Regions from separate parts of the Homo sapiens genome. Here regions 1, 3, 4 and 5 are each linked to region 2. Evidence: promoter capture Hi-C in 16 types of primary human blood cells and fetal thymus (Javierre and others, 2016). All regions are on one chromosome and are shown on one strand. Each heading gives the region's core, a stretch centred on a gene start or on the middle of the fragment in contact. The rest is flanking DNA. Distances are from core to core; before and after follow the strand shown.

Region 1 (2,700 bases), core at 18-2,517, 230 kb before region 2:
GGCCCACACTTCTGCCCAGCTGTGAGGACAAGAGCACGAGCCTCAGCAGGGAAGAGACGGGTTCACAGCTACCAGGCAGTGACTTCCAGGGCCCGTGTTTTCAGAGCAGGAGACTCGGGAGGCAGGCTGAGATGGCAACTCCTCACAGAGTGTGTGAGACACCCATCAATGCAATGCCATTTCTCAAATAAGAGATGTGTCTTCCTAAGCCTTGGTGAAACACAAAGGTTGTTTTGACTAAACTGAAAGGGACAGGCCCACCTCAAAACTTAAAAATCCCTTGAACCACATCAGGAACAGAAATTCATCAGCCAGTTACTAAATTAATACACTTAAGAGGGAGGGCTGGGCCAGGCTCAGTGGCTCACGCCTGTAATCCCAGCACTTCGGGAGGCTGTGGCGGGTATATCACCTGAGGTCAGGAGTTCAAGACCAGCCTGGCCAACATGGCGAAACCCCATCTCTACTAAAAATACAAAAATTAGCCAGGCGTGTTGGTGTGCACTTGTTATCCCAGCTACTAGGGAGGCTGACGGTTGCAGTGAGCTGAGGGTTGCTGTTGAGGGTTCAACAGCTTGAACCCGGGAGGCAGAGGTTGCAGTGAGCCAAGATCCTGCCATTGCACTCCATCCTGGGCAACAAGAGCGAAACTCTGTCTCAGAAAAAAAAAAAAAAGAGGGAGGGAGGGCTGGGTGCGGTGGCTCATGCCTGCAATCCCAGCACTGTGGGAGGCTGAGGCAGGCAGATCACTGTGAGCCCAGGAGTTTGAGACCAGCCTGACCAACATGGTGAGAACCCATCTCTTCAAAAAACACAAAAATTAGCTGGGAATGGTGGTGCATGCCTGTAGTCCCAGCTACTTGAAAGGCTGAGAGGTTGGAGGGTGGCTTGAGTCCACTGAGGTCAAGGCTGTAGTGAGCTATGATGCGCCACTGCACTCCAGACTTGGTGACAAAAAAAACAAAGGCCCGGCAGGGCTGCCAACCCATTCTACTGTAGGAAGGGCTCTGTCTTGACCAGGCTGCCCTGAAAACAAAGTCAGGCTGACCTGGCTCCCATGGGCAGGGCTGAGGGACATGAAGAGTTTGCAGCTGAGGTCTGGACAGAACAGCACTTAAACTGCCTCTGCAGTGAGTTCCAGGGAGCAAGAGTGTGCTGGGCTGTGGGCCCGACTCAGAGAAGGCTTAGCTCTCTGGTGGCAGAGCTCTGAAGCCTGTGGAGGATGGGGGCAACGCTGACCTGGCCGAAGTTCTCCACAGTGCTCCGCAGGTAGAGCAACACCTGCTTGGCCGCGAGCAGGACCTGCTGCATGGACAGGTGTGGCATGGTGGCCTGCAGCTGCACCTGGATGTGCTCGTCCCGAAGCGCTTGGCTCTCGTAGGCTGCCTGCAGCAGGGCTGTGAAGGACGAGGCCAAGGGAAGGGCAGGGGGCGAGGGGCTGCCCTGTGCCTGCAGCAGCTGAGGGAGACAGCAAAAGGCCGGGGAAGAGAAAGACACATCACCACAGATGAAAACGGTCATAGGCACAGGTAACACACAACAAACGGACATTTCACAAAGAAGCACATGCTGAGATAAGACTAACGAATACGGGACCGTGTGGCATTTTACTTCAGTAGAGTAAGTTCTCGTACCATGTCATGCGTACTTTCCTAGAGCGTTTCCACTGACCACATGTGAAGGCCCAAATTCATGCTGCATCTACACCCCTTGGAGAACAAGGCAGAAGCCTGTCCCACAGGCAGGAGCCACGTGTGACAGAGGCAGGATGTGAATCACAAGAATCACTAGAAAGGGGGAAATCAGCCCACAGAGAAGCCCGCTCTGCGAGTGGCCTGCCTTCGGAAGACCTTCCCCAGGAGCTGCGGGTCGAATATCTTGTTAGAAGGACAGAAGATGGGCAGAACACAGAGAAATTTCTGGAGCCCTTCTGCCTCAAACTGAAGTTATTCATTTCTTCTAACATTACTACCAAGCTGCCTTCTTTATTTACTCCACGTGGCTTATGTTGCTATAATTCCATTTGACTTCCTTAGGCTAATAAAACCCAAGGCTGTAACATGCCCTGAAACTTGGTGGTTGTCAGTGTTCCCCAGGCCTGCAGCAGCATGTGTGAAATGCAAATTCTCAGGCTCCACCCAGACCTGCCGGGCCAGACACTGTGGCTGGAACCCGGCAGTCCAGTTTGAAAAGGCCCTCTGGGGAATTCCGACACACCCTGGAGGGTGAGAACCACTGCTAAGTCTTATTCCACAGAAGGTGGACACCCACTCCAAGCAACCACGAGGGGCAGGACAGAACCTCTAATACTGCCACATAAGTTGCTGTCTGGCTATCACTGTGGCCTACGTGTGGGGGAAGGTGGCAACATTATGGGTCAGGGCTCTGGAGCCAGACTGCCTGGGCCAAATCCTGACTCCGCCACTGACTGGTGTTGGAACCGCTCTGGGCCTCGGTTTCCCCATATGCATAAAGGATGGTGAGAGTCCCGGCCTACTTCTCAGAGTTACAGTAAGGATTAAACGGCCAAAAATACACATAGTACACTTAGTACAGGACCCGGTATGCCTCCAAAAAACACACAGAAAACATGCAATCGCTGTTGGCTATTGCTACCAATATCACAAGATAAGGAGGGTCTAAACTGACTGCTTTTTCGAATGCAGCTAAAATGAAATGAATGCACAAAAATGCATACCA
Region 2 (2,700 bases), core at 6-2,505:
CTTTGGGGTCCCTGGCCTCGAGTTGACCTGCCAGCATCCTGGTTGGGAAGGGAAGGGCTATGGGGACACTTGAATGCAGCCCTCCTACCCCGTCAGTGTGGGCTGAAGGCCCCAGCCCCAAACTAAGGGTGAGCAGGACCCGCAGCCGCTCCTTCTCCCCCTGGGTCATGTGCACATTCCCAGGCCCGAAGCTGACCAGGTGAAAGGACACCACAGACAGAGGGACTGAGCTGTCCACACCTGGCTCTCCACCATCCTCCGTGGAAAATGCTTTAGATCCTAGAAGATCAGCCTGACACCTAACACACTCCAGTCATCCAAAGAGGGGTGTGAGTGGGGTGTGAGCCGGTGTGAGTGGGATGTGAGTGGGTTGTGAGCAGGATATGAGCGGAATGTGAATGGATGTGAGCGGATGTGAGCACGATGGTCTTGGGGTATGAGCAGGTGTGAGTGGAATGGTCTCAGGGTGTGAGCAGGTGTGAGTGGAGGGTCGCATGAGACACCGAGGGAATTCTCAGCCCTTTAATCAGCACCCACCTGGAGGGGCACAGGCAGACCCTCCACCGTGTTGAGTATGTGTCTTGAACCATCAGGGTGACATTTGTGAATTCATGGTGAAGATGTGGAAAGGAAACACCTTTTTATAGGTACAGCATTTATGCCAGTTCTAGGAAGTTCACAGCAATTAGAGAACAAAAACGAAAGAGAAAAACGCAAAGCTTTCCTGCAAGCCTGCAGGGTCGTCTCTGAAAGCTGCCTCCACCCCTGCCTTGCCCTGTCCGTTTTAGGAAGCCAGTGGCCCCCAACGAAACCCCGACTGTTTAATTCATAAACTTCTAACTGTGTGAGAAGGAACAGTTTAACCACAGTGATCGGAGAAATGCTATTTAAAAGAGAGTCTCCTGATGGAAGCGAATCGAAGGTCTAGAGCAAGACCTACCAGTAACCAGATCACTGCCATTCCTTCCCCGCGGAGACTGGGAATGTTTCTGCGGAAGTGGGCTGGGGTCACGGTCCTCACAGCCCTGAGAAAGCTCCTTCTTTCCTGCTCCTCTGAGGGGACACCCCAGTGTCCTCGGCCCCAAACTCATGACCCCCTCAGTCCAGGGAAGACCCTTTCCTTCAGCCCCACCACCAGACCTCGTCACCTCACCTGGTCCCCAACAGTCACTACTGCCAGGATCAGATCATCTGGGCCATGTCCCCACAGTTGTCCCCAAGCCCTCCTGCCTCATATCCAGAGACCAGAGAGCAGCGGACAGTTCCAACGGACTTTCTGTCTTAAAGGGACATGAACGTCTCACTCAGCGTCACCACTGTACCAGCTCAGATAATAATTAAACATCCCCAAACCTGCAATTCTTAATATAGAAGCTCATCGTCAGTGGAGTCCATCCATCCACAAAGGACATTGGAGAGAGTCAAACTACTCCTCCAAATTGACAAAAACCATGTGTTTTATATCCAGTCTTCAATACGCAACGTGTAGTAAGAGCTCATTTCTCTGAGCATACATTCTTGGAGAAATACAAACTTTCTTCGGATATCAAATTATTTACTAGAAAAAACATTTTTATGAAGGGAAAATAATATATGTGAGTTTAAATAGGAGACAGGATTCAAAGTTTCATCATTTCACTAAATGCATCTCCATCTGAATTGTCCGTGTGATTTTTGTGATAGAGAAGAGAATGAGGAGCAAGCAAGAGTCGATATTCCTGTTAAACCCTGGCTGTCCTTCTCATCCATGGTGCTGCGTGTGGACAACATACACCTGGGGCTCACCTGAGCCTGCTTGGGACGTGTGTCACTTGGATAGTTCTGCAAGCGATTCGCATGCAATAGGCAGTAAATGCCGACGTCATGAATGAATGAAGAGAATACTACAAAGAGGAAACAGAAGGCACTTTTGTCCCCATGTGTCATTCTAACTGTGAGAGTGTGTGTGTGTGTCCTGAGGTGTGCGAGTGTGTGTGTGTGTGTCCTGAGGTGCGTGAGAGGTTGTATGTTTGTCCTGAAGTGTGTGAGAGTTTATATAGGTTTCTGAGGTATGTGAGGGGTTGTGTGTGTCCCTGAGGTGTATGAGGTGTGTGTGGGTCCTGAGGTGTGTGAGTGGTTGTGTGTGGGTCCCTGAGGTGTGTGAGAGGTTGTGTGTGGGTCCTAAGGTGTGTGAGTGGTTGTGTGTGGGTCCTAAGGTGTGTGAGAGGTTGTGTGTGGGTCCTAAGGTGTGTGAGTGGTTGTGTGTGGGTCCTAAGGTGTGTGAGAGGTTGTGTGAGTCCTGAGGTGTGTGAGAGGATTGTGTGTGAGTCCTGAGGTGTGTGAGGGGTTATGTATGGGCCCCTGAGGTGTGTGAGGGGTTTTATGTGTGTCCTGAGAAGTGTGATGAATTGTGTGGGTCCTGAGGTGTGTGAGGGTTTGTGTATGAGACCCTGAGGTGTGTCAACATTGTGTGTGAGACCCTGAGGTGTGTGAGGGGTTGTGTGTGGATTCCTGAGGTGTGTGAGGGCTTGTGTGTATGAGCCTGAGGTGTGTGGGTTCCTTATATGGGTTCCTGAGGTGTGTGAGGGGTTGTGTGTGTGTCCTGAGGTGTGTGAGGGGTTGTGCTTGGGTCCTGGGGTGTGTGAGTGGGTGTTTGTCCTGAGGTGTGTGAGAGGTTGTGTGTGTGTCCTGAGGTGTGTGAGAGTTTGCGTAGGTTCCTGA
Region 3 (2,700 bases), core at 119-2,618, 220 kb before region 2:
ACTCATCAATCCCAGTCTAACTGTGCTGAGACTCAACAAGATTTCACTCTAAGCAAAATCTTGATGAACAGGATAAATTGGCTCAAAAGATTCTAAATAAACCTCAAATTCAGCTCAGTGAAAGGCAAAACGCTATAGAAGATAAGGACACCAAATTTACATGGTCTAAAATATCCCTTTTTATCCCTGAAAGGTCTTCATATTGTATAGTTTACCAGATGAGAATGTCTGCCTGTCCCCTAACTCCCTATGCCCCCCTACCTAGCTAACAGACTTATTTTTTTGAGATGGAGTCTCGCTCTGTCACCCAGGCTGGAGTGCAGTGGCGCGATCTCAGCTCACTGCAACCTCCGCCTCCCAGGTTCAAGTAATTCTCCTGTCTCAGGCTCCCAAGTACCTGGGATTACAGGCGCACACCACCACACCCAGTTAATTTTTGTATTTTTAGTAAGAGACAGGTTTCGTCACGTTGGCCAGGCTGGTCTCAAACTCCTGACCTCAGGTAATCCGCCTGCCTCGGCCTCCCGAAGTGCTGGGATTACAGGCATGAGCCACCACGCCCAGCTTAGCTAACAGACTTTTAAATATCATGTTTTTTTACCTTGTTTAGTAGTTTGATATTATTTAACCAAGTAGACTTCGCTCGTGGGATAAAGGAAAACGTTACTTCCTTGAAGTATTTGTTCAGTAAGTCCGGGCACACTTTGAGGATGTTTACCACAAGGTCAGCCACCAGATCATCATCAGCTGCAGTTTTCAAACCCAGCAAGAAGTGCAAGAGTGTCAGGTTTCCGCCTCTGTTAGAGAAAGACACATGGGGAGAGGTCAGCAGAAAATGGTCAAAGCACCCTGAGAGCTCATGGTGACGTGCAGCTCTGCAGAATTGCCCTCAGTGAACACAGCAATAACAACGTAGGGAATTTCCCCCAGGACGTAAAGTGGGGGTTCCGTGGCCTGGGGGTTCCAGCTCTCCACAGAGGGCTTCCCTCTCATCCTCTACTTCTGAGTGGCTGAAAAAGTCTCTGTCCTGCGATCTTTCTTCTTTCCTACTTCCCTCCCTTGAGTTCAATTTGCTTTCTAAAGAAAAGGAAGAAAACCATTCTCTCTCGCTCTACCTCAGCCACCTACCAGTCTGCCTAGAAGTCAAGGCTACTGAAAAGAAAGGACAAAACCAGCAGGGAGGAATCCATGCCCCAAATTTCATTTTGAGATTTTACTGACGTTCCTCCTCCAGCCACACACAAAAAAAGCACTATGTAGGGCTGGCTGTGGTACTCACAACTGTAATCCCAGCACTTTGGGAGGCCAAGGTGGGAGGATCACCTGAGGTCAGGAGTTCAAGACCTTGGCCTTGAACTATGTTGGCTTGGTCAACATAGTGAAACCCTATCTCTATTAAAAACACAAAAAAATTAGCCAGGCATGGTGGTGCCTGCCTATAGTCCTAGCTACTCAGGAGGCTGAGGCAGAAGAATTGCTTGAACCTGAGAGGTGGAGGTTGCAGTGAGCTGAGATTGCACCACTGCACTTCCAGCCTGGGTGACAGAGTAAGACTCCATCTGAAAAAAACAGCACTATGTAAATACATATGTGAGTGTGAGTGTAAAAAAATGCAGATAAGACATTTTTCTCTTGAAAGGGGGATTTGTTTTAATTTTTAAAATTTTTTATTATTTCTTCAGAGACAGGGTCTTGCTCTGTCACCCAGAATGCAGTGGCGTGACCATAGCTCACTGCAGCCTCGAATTCCTGGGTTCAAGTGACCCTCCTGCCTCAGCCTCCTGGGTAGCTGGGACTAGAGGTGCACACCACCACATCTGGAAATAAAGTTTTTTTTATACGAACTGCTCATGAGTTGCTGCATGGTCCAGAGCGCCATTAAATTATTTCTTGACAAGAAATCTGACAAGACAGCACGAGGTCTTTGCATGGACCTTCTGCCTTCCCTGTTTCTAGCTTATTTCAAATTCCTTCATTTTCATTTAGCAGATGAAAGAAGCTAGGATGTGGAAAAAATCTACCGTAGAAAAATACTGAAAAGTTATCTCAAAGTGGACAGTCTTCAAAGGTATGAAAAGATAATAAAAGCAGGTGAGCCCAGGACTTCAAGGCTGCAGTAACCTACGACTGTGCCACTGCCTTCCATCCTGAACAACAGAGCGAGTCTCCATCTCAAAAAAAAAAAAAAAAAAAAAGTAAGAAGCAGGAAAGTCTGCAGAGACTAAAACTTGCATAAAGGGAGTAAAATCCCAGGATCCACACAGCCAAAGCCCCAGGACACTAGGCTTCATCTGCTTCAAAGTCTTTTTAGAAAATATGCCCTTTCCTATCTGCTTGACCCTGTGAAGTCAAAACATCCAGAAAATCCTCAGACTCTGTCTCATGTGCACGACACAGTGATGGTTTCTAGGGTCCCCGGTGTCTCACATCCCCCTTATAAATTGAGTAAAACTACAATGCTATATGAGAGCTTTACATATAGTAAAAAAAGTTTTTTAAAAACCAAATTAGAAAGTATAATTTTGATCAGAAAAACTATCCTTTAAAAAAGGACATGAAAATATCCTTTCCTAATATGAAAATGTCATGAACAAAATAGTTTGTACTGTCAAATGAAAAGGATATTAAATCTACAAAGAGTGCTAAAAATACTACACATGCTTTATTTTAATCAACAACGTAATAAAATGGAGAGCATTA
Region 4 (2,700 bases), core at 134-2,633, 170 kb before region 2:
GCTAGTACATAGCAAAGAACAAGGGCAAACCAGAAGTTGAGATGGGGTTCTAGTTTACTTACAGAGAATGTCATTGTTAGTGGAGAGCCCTTAGGTCAGAGGTTCTTTGCTTTGAATATGTAATATCAAGGCAGTATTCCTACCTAGCAAAGGAAGCCAAGATAAGGCCTATTTGGCAAGCCACCCACGGCCCTTAAAATCAAGCATCCCAGGATCAGAACTCTGTGGTAAGAGTTGTGGGGAAATGCATCAGACTTTTCAAGGGCTATTAACTTTTTTTTTTGTACTACTAGAACTTTCTTGGCTGCTAGAAAAGCTCTGTATTAGCTGATTTGAGCTATGGAAAGCAGTTCTGAGTTCAGCCACCATCTAGCTCTGAATTCTAAGGAAATAATTGAAAACTGACAAGCCTTTTTGTGTTTGTGACATCATTGCAACTGAACAAATATTGCTTTAGGCAAATTGCAGTGTAACCATTAGATTGTTTTCACAGATTATAGACACTTAGAGTTCTGTTGCTTTAGGGAAGCAGTTGCAATACTTGTAACAGTCTATAGATTACCACCCAAGTTTGGAATTGTCTGTATCTAGCAACTGTTACATACAGTGGAGTTGAGCTATCAACTCCTTAGTAAAATGAATGATTTGATACATGTTATTCTAAATAGTATAAATGATAAAAGGCATTTTCTTCTGCTTTCCATACGAACCTAAATTCCAGGGTTTCAAACTCCCTGAGCCAGCAGTAGGTGGTGATATTGCCACCCACAACGAGCCCCCATTTTTCCTCTCATCAGTGATGCTCTCCAGAGATCTGAAGATTAGGCAGAACATGTCAGAAGCCTTTTGGGGAGAAGAAAGGAAATATAATGTCCTCCCAAACCACTGATGCACTTAAATTTAAACCTTAATTCTATATCATGTGAGGTCAGGGAAATATTAGAAAAATCTCAGGGAGAAAGAAAGATCATCTTCCAAAGTTGGCTCATTTGACTTGGATTTTAGCCGCCCTCCCTCTGCAAATTCCTAAGCTCCAAAGATGACCATCTTATTGTTCGGTTCAGTGTTTCAGCTGACGCGAACCCCATGTGGCCTCAAAGCTTGCCGCCTGTGTTCCTGGGACAGTCGGTCCTGTTCCTTTTTATGAACTTGAAGGAGTGCATAGAAACCAAAACTGAGGCCTGGAAGGAGACAGTGGATCCTCCCCTGCAGAGCCTGATCACAATAACCAGGGCTAGAGAGCAGTGTTTGACAATGCAGATACTTGCCTGTTTTTCTAAATAAAGGGAACATCAAAAACTAGCAGAGGATAGAGGAAACTTGGGATCCCTCTGCCCTGTGAAGGAGGAGGGAGGATGGTGTATCCATGTGAAAGAAAGTGCCAGAATGTCAGGGGTCCCAGCCATTGTCTGTACAATATAGGCCCCTTTCTCCCCCCAGGAGATTAGCAGTGCAGAGTTTTGGAAAGTTCCTTAAGCCTTTCTCTTCTTTGCGGCTCTTCCTTGAGCCTTTTCCTGGGGCTGTCAGCTGGTGTCGTTTTCCTGGGTCATTGATTTTTTTTTGCCCTCAGGGATTCCAGCATCGATCTCACTCTTAATAAGCCAGAGGCAGCATCATGGCCCCCTCCTCCTCCCTGTCCATGCTCGTGACTTGTTCTAATCACCTCCAAGCTTGCTAGTAAACAGGCTCCCCAAACACCGCCTTCTCTCTCATCTCCAAAGATTTTGAGATGTCGCCAGCGGCCACTGGAAGGCTATCATCACTGCATTAAAAATGAATCCCAGCGAAGGCAAGAGAAGTTCATGCAAAATTAGTGCCTCTGATCCTTAATCTCATACTCAAATGTGCTTGGCTTTCATCCACTTTCCTCTTTGGGATAGAGTTCTCTTCATTTGACTGCATTCTCAAATTGAGGATTTGGCTTGAGACGTCTAAATTCATCATTGACTTAAAAAACAAAACAAACCCCAGAAGTATAATGCTATGCCCATAGTTCTTTGTTCAGAGAACAAGACAGGGAGCTGGAGCTTGAGGATGAGTGCTGAGAGGAGGGAGGGGTGCCCTCTTGAGTAGCAGCCATAAAAAGCAAGGGATCCTCATATTTTTGCCTTAAAGAGTGGTGTTTCAGTGTGTCTCTTGTATTTAGTTTGTGATGGTCCCTCAGTACTTACTGTTTTGTGTGTGTGTGTGTGTGTGTGCTTCTAATTTGTGTTGTTTCTCTGCTGAAGGTAAGCTGGGTCTTCTCTTTCCTCCCTGCTTCTTTCCTTTCTCTCCTTTTCTTTTTCTTTTTCTTTTTTTTTTTTTTTTTTTCTTTTTGAGACGCAGTTTCACTCTGTTGCCCAGGCTGGAGTGCAGTGGTACAGTCTCGGCTCACTGCAACCTCTGCCTCCCAGGTTCAAGCAACTCTCCTGCCTCAGCCTCCTGAGTAGCTGGGATTATGGGCACCCACCACCACACCCAGCTAATTTTTGTATTTTTAGTAGAGACATGTTTTCACCATTTTGGCCAGGCTGGTCTCGAACTCCTGACCTCAAGTGATCCACCCACCTTGGCCTCCCAATGTGCTGGGATTATAGGCATGAGCCACCGCACCCAGCCTCTCCTTTTCTTTTTCTTTTGTTTCCTTTTTTCTCCAAGAAGTTCAAAGTGATTGATGGGCTTCTAGGTAGAGGTGGGGAGGAAGGAAGGGAAGGAAAGGGT
Region 5 (2,700 bases), core at 167-2,666, 190 kb before region 2:
AGTTTAACACAGGTAGAGATGGATTGGTACAGAAATAAGTATAAATACATATTCTACCTGGGTTTGTACACAAGCATATATTTCCTAGCTCTGTTCACTGGTAGGGCCTAGAAGCAGTCACACCCCAGAAGCAATGAGCACACTCAGTGCCCAGATCTTGGTTTCTAATACCATTATCAAATAAAAGGAACCAGGGTGGGTGTGGTGGTTTATGCCTGCAATCCCAATATCTTGGGAGGCCAAGGTAGGTGGATCACCTGAGGTCAGAAGTTCGAGACCAGCTTGGCCAACATGGCAAAACCCCCATCTCTATCAAAAATACAAAAATTAGCTGGGTGTGGTGTCATGCACCCGTAATCCCCGCTACTCAGGACACTGAGGCAGGAGAATTGCTTGAACCAGGGAGGCGGAGGTTGCAGTGAGCCAAGTTTGTGCCGCTGCACTCCAGCCTGGGTGACAGAGTGAGACTCCATCTCAAAAAAAAAAAAAAAAAAAAGAGAAAAGAAAAAAGAAAAAAAAACACACAATAAAAATATAAAAATAAAAAGAACCAGGACTCCTTAGAGAAATGGCTGATTCTAGGGCTGGGACAGGGAACACATAAGGTGAGTGTGGAGTATCTTGTAGTACCAGAAAGTAAGAAATGCTTCAAAAACAAAAGAATGGAGCTATGTCAAAGAGTCACAGGAACCAACTTGAAAGAACTCCCAATGGAACAGTTTCGGTGACAAAATGAATAATATAGCATTGGATTATAACCTAGGGTAAAAAGTAAATATATGTAAGTCTATACTGATATAAAAAATGATGATCACCAGGCATGATGGCTCATGCCTGTAATCCTAGCACCTTGGGAGGCTGAGACAGGAAGATCACTGGAGCCCAGGAGTTTGGGTCCATCCTGGGCAACAGTTTAGCAAGACCTCATCTCTAAAAGAAATAATAATAATAAAATAAAAATAAATTGATTGCTAAGTAAATAAATGGGGGAGAAGAGATAAATCTTCCTTACAAAAGTAATCCAAATAATACATGTAGATACTTCCTGCTTCCAGAGGTGGAGCTTAATTCAAATACTCCTCCCCACTTCCCTAGTGTAGGTTTAGTGACCTACTTTTAAATACTGGAATATGACGAGGGAAAAATGATAACTCTATAATAGAGAAGCATGGCAAACACTACCTTATCCAAGGGATCAAAGTTAATGTCATGTATAAATCATGTTACTGTGATGTACCCCTGAAGTGATGTGATGAAGATGCTTTGCCTCTGTATATCCTTCCCGAAACCCAAAATCCCAGCCCAATTGTGTGGAAAACATCAGAGAAACCTAAATTGAGGGACAGTCTAAAAAGTACATGAGCAGTACCCTTTAAAACTGTCGAGGTCATGAAAAGCAATGAAGAACTGAAACACGACCACAGACCAGATGTGATGGGAGACACAATGATAAAATGCACTGTGGTACCCTGGACTGGACCCTGGAGCAGAAAAAGGCCAGAAGGGGAAAAACTAGTACAGCGCAAATAAAATAAAGTCTGGCGTTTAGTTAATAGTAACGTCCCAATGCTGGTTGCTTAGTTAGCAAATGTACCCTACAACCGTGAGAAATGTAAAACATCAGATGAAACTGGCTGAGAGTGTATGGAATTTTTTTCAAATGTTCTGCAAATCTAGAATCATTTCAAAATAAAAAGTGTAGTCAAGGCCAGGCACAGTGGCTCACACCTGTAATCCCAGCACTTTGGGAGGCTGAGGTGGATGGATCACTTGAGGTCAGGAGTTCGAGACCAGCTCAGCCAACATGGTGAAACCTCGTCTCTACTAAAAGTACAAAAAGTACCTGGGCGTGGTGGTACATGCCTGTAACCCCAACTACTGGGGAGACTGAGACAGGAGGATCACTTGAACCCAGGAGGTGGAGGTTGCAGTGAGCCAAGATCGTGCCACTGCACTCCAGCCTGGGCAACAAAGTGAGACCCTGTCTCAAAAAAAAGAAAGAAGGAAGGAAGGAAAGAAGAAAAGAAAGAAAGAAAAAAAGAAAGAGAAAAGTGTAGTTAAAACAAAGACCTATGCATAGATAGGAACTTTTTATTTTTAATTTTGAAACAGCTTTATTAAGGTATAACTGATATGCAGTCTAATGGCACATATTTACTGTATATGATTTGATGAATTACCTCCTGGCTCCTGGTAACCACCATTCTATTCTCTGCTTCTATGAGTTTGACTATTTTAGGTACTGCTTATGAGTCCTGTCCTTCTGTAACTGGCTTCTTTCACTCAGCAGACACCCAGAATAATTGAAATAAGGTTATTGAAGGGATATTTGCACTCCCTGTTCATTGCAGCATTATTCATAATCGCCAATTTACAGAAGCAACCTAAATGCCTATCGACAAATCAATGGGTTAAAAAAAAATGCGGTATTTAGTATACAATGAAATATTATTCAGCCTTAAAAAAAAGAAGGAAATCTTGATATTTTTGACAACATAGATGAACCTGGAGACCATTATAGAAATGTGATATGTGATCAAGACAACACCAAAATCAGTGGGAGAAGGGTGGTGTGGTAGATTACAAAATATGGTCACAAATTCCTCCCACCCTGGAATTCATGCCCCTTTGCAATTTGACTTTGCAGTTCTCATTGGGAGGTTGGGACATTTCTTCCCCTGTTGGGGAGCAATTTGGAAC

Evidence for each region. The method cuts DNA at HindIII sites, captures the fragments that hold promoters and counts their contacts. A CHiCAGO score of 5 or more calls a contact.
Region 1: a fragment that was not itself captured here is called in contact with the fragment with the promoter of TCP10L in region 2 in 3 of 17 cell types (endothelial precursors, megakaryocytes and M1 macrophages); the score reaches 7.1 in endothelial precursors.
Region 3: a fragment that was not itself captured here is called in contact with the fragment with the promoter of TCP10L in region 2 in 5 of 17 cell types (M2 macrophages, megakaryocytes, M0 macrophages and 2 more); the score reaches 9.2 in M2 macrophages.
Region 4: a contact is called between a fragment that was not itself captured here and the fragment with the promoter of TCP10L in region 2, in 10 of 17 cell types (megakaryocytes, M2 macrophages, endothelial precursors and 7 more). The highest score is 13.2, in megakaryocytes.
Region 5: a contact is called between a fragment that was not itself captured here and the fragment with the promoter of TCP10L in region 2, in 10 of 17 cell types (M2 macrophages, megakaryocytes, M0 macrophages and 7 more). The highest score is 18.4, in M2 macrophages.

What each region holds. Positions count from the first base shown.
Region 1 is chr21:32,349,465-32,352,164 of GRCh38, forward strand. URB1 (URB1 ribosome biogenesis factor) reads right to left here. Exons shown (of 39, transcript NM_014825.3): 20 at 1,240-1,458; 21 at 1-19. Among named protein-coding and RNA genes, the nearest start is that of SNORA80A, 27 kb to the right of the region's middle. RefSeq lists an enhancer at 2,253-2,362. The HindIII fragment of the contact is 4,143 bases long and covers 1-2,700 here.
Region 2 is chr21:32,584,268-32,586,967 of GRCh38, forward strand. It overlaps TCP10L (t-complex 10 like), which reads right to left and starts at 1,256. Exons shown (of 5, transcript NM_144659.7): 1 at 1,154-1,256; 2 at 1-38. The coding sequence starts at 37. The region is part of intron 5 of CFAP298-TCP10L (CFAP298-TCP10L readthrough); the gene reads right to left. RefSeq lists an enhancer at 1-13 and a silencer at 1,095-1,294. The HindIII fragment of the contact is 14,271 bases long and covers 718-2,700 here.
Region 3 is chr21:32,367,802-32,370,501 of GRCh38, forward strand. It overlaps URB1 (URB1 ribosome biogenesis factor), which reads right to left. Exons shown (of 39, transcript NM_014825.3): 9 at 602-797. Among named protein-coding and RNA genes, the nearest start is that of SNORA80A, 8.2 kb to the right of the region's middle. The HindIII fragment of the contact is 4,072 bases long and covers 1-2,700 here.
Region 4 is chr21:32,414,031-32,416,730 of GRCh38, forward strand. The region is part of intron 1 of EVA1C (eva-1 homolog C); the gene reads left to right. Among named protein-coding and RNA genes, the nearest start is that of EVA1C, 2.7 kb to the left of the region's middle. The HindIII fragment of the contact is 570 bases long and covers 1,099-1,668 here.
Region 5 is chr21:32,397,223-32,399,922 of GRCh38, forward strand. No RefSeq gene overlaps it. Among named protein-coding and RNA genes, the nearest start is that of URB1-AS1, 5.4 kb to the left of the region's middle. The HindIII fragment of the contact is 7,568 bases long and covers 1-2,700 here.